Regions from separate parts of the Homo sapiens genome. Here region 1 is linked to region 2. Evidence: promoter capture Hi-C in human tissues and cell types (Jung and others, 2019). All regions are on one chromosome and are shown on one strand. Each heading gives the region's core, a stretch centred on a gene start or on the middle of the fragment in contact. The rest is flanking DNA. Distances are from core to core; before and after follow the strand shown.

Region 1 (3,610 bases), core at 754-3,253, 170 kb before region 2:
AAAGCCTAATCATATCATTCTGCCCCAGGACCCTCCCAAATCTCATGTCCCTTTTACATTTCAAAACCAATCATGCCTTCCCAACAGTTCCCCAAAGTCATAATTCATTCCAGCATTAACCAAAAAGTCCAAGACTGAAGTCTCACCTGAGACAAGGCAAGTCCCTTCCACCTATGACCCTGTAAAATAAAAAACAAGTTACTTCCAAGACACAATGGGGGTATAGGCATTGGGTAAATGTTCCCATTCCAAATGGGAGAAATTGGAACTATGGGGCTACAGGACCCATGCAAGTCCAAAATCCAGTGGGGCAGTCAAATCTTAAAGCTTTGAAATGATCTCCTTTGACTCTATCCACGTCCAGGTCACACTGATACAAGAGGTGGGCTCCCAAGGCCTTGGGCAGCCCTACCCCTGTGCTTCTGCAGGGCACAGTCCTCTTCCCAGCTGTTTTCACAGGCTGGTGTTGAGTGTCTGCGGCTTTTCCAGGTGCATGGTGCAAGCTGTCGGTGGATCTACCATTCTGGGGGCTAGAGGATGATGGCCCTATTCTTACAGCTCCACTAGGCAATGCCCCAGTGGGGACTCTGTGTGGAGGTGTCTGACCCCACATTCCCTTAATCACTCTAGCAGAGGTTCTCCATGAGGGCTCTGCCCCTGTAGCAAATTTCTGCCTGGACATCCTGCCATTTCCATACATCCTCTGAAATCTAGGTGGAGGTTCCCAAACCTCAGTTTTTGATTTATGTGCACCCGTGGGCCCAATACCACATGTAGGTCACCAAAGCTTGGGGCTTGCACTGTCTGAAACAACAGCCAGAGCTATATGTTGGCACCTTTTAGCCATGGCTAGGACGCAGGGCACCATGTCCCCAGAGTGCACAAAGCAGCAAGGCCCTGGGCCCAACCCCTGAAACAGTTTTTTCTTCCTAGGCCTCCAGGCCTGTGGCGAGAGGGCCTGCTGTGAAGACCTCTGACAGGCCCTGGAGACATTTTTCCCATTGTCTTGGTGATTAACGTTTGGCTCTTCATTATTTATGCAAATTTCTGCAGCCAGGGCTTGAATTTCTCCTCAGAAAATGGGCTTTTCTTTTCTATTGCATCATCAGGCTGCACATTTTCCAAACTTTTATGTTCTGCTTCCCTTTTAAACATAAGTCCCAATTCCAAACCATCTATTAGTGAATGCATAAAACTGAGTGCTTTTTAGAGCACCCAAGTCACTCCCTGAATGCTTTGCTACCTAGAAATTTCTTCCACCCCAAATCATCTCTCTCAAGTTCAAAGTTGCACAGATCTCTAGGGCAGGGGCAAAATGCTGCCGGTCTCTTTGCTAAAGCATAACAAGAGTCACCTTTGTTCCAGTTCCAAATAAGTTCCTCATCTCCATCTGAGACTACCTCAGCCTGGACTTCATTGTCCATATCACTATCAGAATTTTGTTCAAAAGCATTCAATGAGTCTCTGGGAAGTTCCAAACTTTCCCACATCTTCCTGTTTTCTTCTGAGCCCTCCATACTGTTCCAACCTCTGCCTGTTACCCAGTTTCAAAGTCACTTTCACATTTTTGGGTATCTTTATAGTAGCACCTCACTCTCTGTGGTACCAATTTACTGTGTCAGTCCGTTTTCGTACCACTATAAAGAACTGCCTGAGACTGGGTAATTTATAAAGAAAAAAGGTTTAATTGACTCACAGTTCAGCATGGCTGGGGAGAACTCAGGAAACTTACAGTCGTGGTGGAAGGCAAAGGGGAAACAAGGCACCTTCTTCGCAAGGCAGCAGGAAGAAGTGTCAAGAAAAGTGGGGAAGAGCCCCTTATAAAACCATCAGATCTGGTGAGGACTCACTCATTTTCATGAGAACAAGTTGAGAACAGCCTGGGGGAACCACCCCCATGATTCAGTTATCTCCACCAGGTCTCCCTTGACACGTGGGGATTATGGGGATTACAAGTCAAGATGAGATTTGATGGGGACACAAAGCTTAACCATGTCATCCCCTCACCAAAAAAAAGTTCTATTCCTGCAGAAAAAGCTATAGTCATGCCCTGCTTAATGATGGTGATACATTCTGTTAATAACAAACTCATCATTAGGTGATTTCCTTGTCATGTGAACATCATAGTGTGTGCTTACACAAACCTAGATGGTGTAGCCAACTACACACCTAGGCTGTACAGTATGGCCTGTTGCTCCTAGGCTGCAAACCTACAGCATGTGACTGTACTGAATACTGCAGGCAGTTGTAACACAATGGAAATGTTTGTGTATCTGAATGAACATAGAGAAGGTATAGCAAAAATAAAGCAGTATAATCTTATGGGGCCACTATCATGCGTGGTCTGTTGCTGACCAAAACATTGCTCTTCAGTATGTGACTATACTGCTTTTACGATGAGTTTCTATCAACATCTAGATTCATAAGTGACTTCTCTATTAATAAAATTTGTTCAAGAAAATCATGGTATATGAATAATTCAGCAAATATTTGAATTCTTGCCTGTTTATGGAATTCTCGCCTATCTGTGGGGTATTCATTAACCAAATATTAATTGGGAACCTACCATGTGCCAGTCTCTCGGGGTAAAGCAGTAAACGTAGCAACATGATCCTTGCTTTCATGGAACTTAGAGTCTAAAGAAGGACATTGTACAGTGAACCAGATGGCAAATAAGTACCATGAGTTCAGATAGTGACAAATAGTCTGGAGAAGTTAAATGGGGTATGGGATGGGGAGTGACAGAGGTGGAGGGCGGTAGCCTGAGGTGGCCAGAAAAAAAAAAATCTGAGCTGGAACCAGAATGATAAGTAGGAGCCACTGTGAAAGCTGGACAGACTAACTGTGGGAGCTGGGTACAGTCCTTGGTTCCCGAATGTTGGCAGGAAAACCTACTCCATAGTGCTGTGTCCCACTTGTACTTCAATGCTGCACCTTCCCGCTGGCCAGTTGCCTGTCTTTCTTTTCAAGGCAAGGTCTTACTCAGCTTCTTGTAGACTTCCCCAGCTCCAAGTTAGGACTGTGCCTTCCCCATATTTCATTCACGTCTCCTGAAATCTTCTTGGGAAGTCTGCTGTTTTCTTCCTTTCTTTTTATTCCACTACGGAGAATTTGAGTTGTAACTGTTCCACTGGCTTTATCCCATTTTATTCACACATTTGCAACAAACTTGTCCAGTTCCTTTTTGTTTTTGTTTATTTGTTTTGTTCCTTCTTTTGGAGAGCTGAGAGAATGGATGGAGGAAGAGCTTATCAAAGTCAATGCAGGCTTGTTATGGAAAATAGGAAAAGTACAGAAACATACTTAAAAATAGAGGGAAAAAAATCACTCCTAATTCCTCTATCCAGAAGTAACTTTAATAGTGTTGGCTTTCTCAGTATTTTATCAATACTTCGTTTTTTCTATGCATTCACATTCTTGTTTTATTTTTAGCTACAACATTGTATCAGAGGAATTTTCCATGTCATTGAAACACTCTAATATTTTAAGTGGCTATAGACCCTTCCATAATTTTGATGTGCTGCTATTTATTTAACTATTTCCCTGATACTAGATGTTAACATTTTTTTTCCAGTTGTTTGCTATTATAAATTAGGCAGTAGTGAACATC
Region 2 (3,473 bases), core at 534-3,033:
GCCATGGGCTGGGGCTGGGACCAGAGCCCCTCACTTCTCAGGGTTGGGGGCTCACAGCGCATGCCTTAGAGATCCCCACTTCCACTGCTTCCCAGCCTTGGCCTCTGCCCAGAGTTGTGCAAATTAAAGGACTTCCGGGCAACATCCATTCATTCCCTGGTCTCTATCCTCCGCCCGCCCCTGCGCTCCAGGGTATTTTTAGTTCTGGGCAGCCAGGCCTGGTGAGTGATTGGCAGCAGGCAGAGCCCACGTTTCCGAACCCTCTGTGTTGCTTCTGGCTCAGCATGAGAGGTGGCTGGGCCCTAGGAGAGGGCTTAGGCATACCTGGCACCCAAGCCCACAGCTGCCTCATTGTCCCTGGGGGAGGAGCTGGGCTGCTGCCACTGACCCGAGGCTGGGAGCATTCTTTCCTGCTGATTCATCATGGGGAATGTTTTGGGCCCAGCTGGGGTGGGGCAGGGGCACTGGGGGGACATCTTGGACACGGGCAGCCAGGAGTGGATGGCAGGTCCCTGGCAGCAGGGTCATTAAGACCTGGCTGTCACCCAGGATCGAAAAGGTCCATCTTGACATCCTAGCTCTATCACACTCTGCCTGTCCAGGCTTATTCTTACTTGCACATCTGCCTCCCCCACCAGACTGGGAAGGCCCCCTCCAGCGTCTAGCACTCCAGCACCCTGTCTAGCATGTAGGAGAAAATCAATAAAGGCTTGTGGGATGAATGAACCTTTGGAAGGACGTTTAGGCAAGGTGGGGGCAAGAGGGGGAACCAGGTTGGGCAGCTGTGGGCCTAGGGAGGAAACCGGGAGGCTGGAACCCTCTGCCCATTTTACAGATGGGGCCAGTGAGGCTAAGGGCAGGACCAGGTCTAGGGGAAAGAAACTGGGGGCTTGGACTGGGGTTCAGGCACCTAGGTGCTCAGTTCAGCTGATGGGACTCCTCTCTGTCAGCCATGTCCACATTTCTTTAATTCTACAGTCCCTGCTCCCTGCACTAACACCCTCCTCCCGTGAGTCTGACAAGGGCCAGGACTGCATCATTCAGCTCTGTGAAGGGGTTCTCCCATTCACTGTGTATTGCCTGGAGGAGCAAGTTATGTCGCCTGGGGCTCAGTGTTCCCAGCTGCACAATGGGCAGCGCAGAGTTTCACACGGAGGGCGGGGGGGGGGGGGGGGGCGGTATTCAGTAAACTCTGGGTGACTCGCCTGTTCCTGCAGGAGAGCACCGCTGCACCGCGCCACCTCGACCTCTCTGAACTGAGCCCCGGCCTCCCAGAAAGGGCGTCTACATTGTCCTAAGTGACCGAGCTCGTGAGATTCGGCCCCTGTGACAGCCGGGCGCTCCCGTGCGAAGGGTGCTGTGCCGGGGGCCCTGGCACCCACCAGGACTCACAGACTGGGACTCTAGGTGGGCGTCATTACCTTGTTCTGCAAAAGAGGAAACTGCCTGGGAGAGGGACTCCCGAGGCCGCCGCGGCCCTCCCTGCAAAACAGCCGCGGGCCCAGCGCCGCCCTTTCCCGAGAGCTCCGCTCCCCGCGACCCCCCGCCGCCCCCCCGCTCCCCCCGCCCCCCGGGACTTCCCGGCCCCGCCGGCTGCGGCTGGGCGCCCCCGCCACCTGGCCTGTGTCCCGACGGGGGGCGCCGCGCGGAAGGCCGGGCGGGGCGCCCGCGGACTCCAGGCCCGCCCGGGGCGGGGCCTGCGGGGCCTCCTCCGCGGCCAGCTCGGGGCTGGGGGGCCGCGGGCGGGAGGCGGATAAAAAGGCCCCAGGGCGCCCGGGGAGGGAGCCCGTTAGCGCTGCTCCGCCGCGGCGCCCGCCCAGCCCCGGACTGTCCGCGCTCCATCTGGTGAGCCCCCGCCTGGCCGCGCGTCTGCCTCTTGGTCTGCCTCTTGCTGTCCCATCTGTCCTTCTGTCTCTCTGTGAGTCTGCAGGCCTCTGAGGGTTCCTGGAGACTGGGCCTAGGGTGCATGGGGGATCCCTTGGACCCTCAGCCCGGCCCTCCAGTCGCTCACCAACCTGCTTCCAACTGGACAAGTGACCACGCTGGGGAGCTTGGCCCAAGGCCCGCCCTGAGTGGTGCGCCCAGGCCTCAGGGGTGCCTGCGTGTCTTGTTTGTGTACACGCCGTGTGTAACCATTGCTCTGCCTTCTTCCAGGGAGGAGACAGGGAAGGGGCAAGGCGGGTTCAGATGTCACACTTACGACTTGGGGGACAACGAACCAGGGCTGATCTGGGCTCTCCAACTATCCAGACCGGAGCTGATTATGTTGGGGGGTCGGCGTGTGACAGAAACACCGAAGGGAAGGGGGCAGAAGACTTCAAGCCCCCTCTTTCCTAGCCTGGACAGGTACAGCTCAGAGACCATTTGTTGGCACTGCTTCAGGTCCACAGAGTCAGTAACCCCGGGGAGGCTACAGGGCTGAGAGGAGGCTGCTGAGAAGAGCTGCCCAACGGCAGAGAAGGGATGAGCCATCCTAAAGTTGCTGCACCCTCAGGACAGCACCCCCCATGCTCTCTCTTGAATACTCGGGCATTTGCTGTCTTCAGCCCTCCCTACCTGCGCTAGGTCAGGCCAGGTCCCAGCATCTCCTGGCACACCTGGAGCAGGTGCCTCTGTGCCTCAAGCTGGCAAGATCTTGGATCTGTCACTCGGCATTCAGCGAAGAGCACCCTGCCCAGTGCCCTCACACCACGGCCTGGGTCATAAATCCACCAGAACAGGGTGGAATTTCAGTCGGCTCCCGGCCTTCCTTTCCTCCTCCCCCTCTTCCAACATCCATTCTTGGTGGTTTTGAGAGTCCGGCGTCTAGCCAGGCTGCTTGGGTTTGAATCCTGGCTGGGCAAGTTACTTGACTTCCCTGGACCTTACCTTCTCATCTGTAAAATGGAGATAAGTATTTAATCCGTATTTTAAAATGTATAGTTATTATCCTCACTTCCCTCCCCTCCTCTTTCCCTTCCACCTTCCTTCCCTCTTCTGTCCCCTTCTCCTTTATTTGGGAAAGTAACGGCCACTTTCGAGGCCGCTTCCTTCTCTGAGGGAGGATGCACAGCTTGGTCCTCTGTGCTCAGTGCTAGGGGAACAGACAGGTGGAGTCTGGTTGTGGGGTCAGGAAGCAAACACACAATGTGCTTTGTGGAAGGCTTTGTGGGAGGGCTTAATGGAGGGGGTGGCATTTGAGCTGGCCTTGTGGGATGTGTAGGAGTTTAACAGTCTTAGATAGAGGGAAAGGAACAGTGAGAGCAAAGGCTTGGAGGCTGGGAGACGAAGGCTATAGTCTGGTGTGAGCAAAAGCTCTCGGGGGCCTATAGTGGGCAGGAAGGCCAATAAGAGGGACTCTCCCTGCATCTAACTCTTGGTTCCCGCTGCCGTCCCCCCACCTTCCAGCAGCGTTCATGGAAGGGAGCTTCCCTGGCCCAGACCCCAGGGTCCTACAGCAGAAGCCCTCCCATGCCCTCAGGTTGGTCCCTTGG

What was found. Contacts are between HindIII fragments. The study calls those that stand out against the background at their distance.
Region 1: a contact is called between a fragment that was not itself captured here and the fragment with the promoter of LOXL4 in region 2, in 1 of the 25 tissues and cell types used here (mesenchymal stem cells).

Annotation. Positions count from the first base shown.
Region 1 is chr10:98,436,190-98,439,799 of GRCh38, reverse strand. The region is part of intron 3 of HPS1 (HPS1 biogenesis of lysosomal organelles complex 3 subunit 1); the gene reads left to right. Among named protein-coding and RNA genes, the nearest start is that of MIR4685, 6.6 kb to the right of the region's middle. The HindIII fragment of the contact is 6,299 bases long and covers 1-3,610 here.
Region 2 is chr10:98,266,504-98,269,976 of GRCh38, reverse strand. It overlaps LOXL4 (lysyl oxidase like 4), which reads left to right and starts at 1,783. Exons shown (of 15, transcript NM_032211.7): 1 at 1,783-1,845. It overlaps LOC124902489 (a long non-coding RNA gene), which reads right to left and starts at 1,535. Exons shown (of 2, transcript XR_007062260.1): 1 at 1-1,535. RefSeq lists enhancers at 1,836-2,335, 2,336-2,837. The HindIII fragment of the contact is 18,964 bases long and covers 1-3,473 here.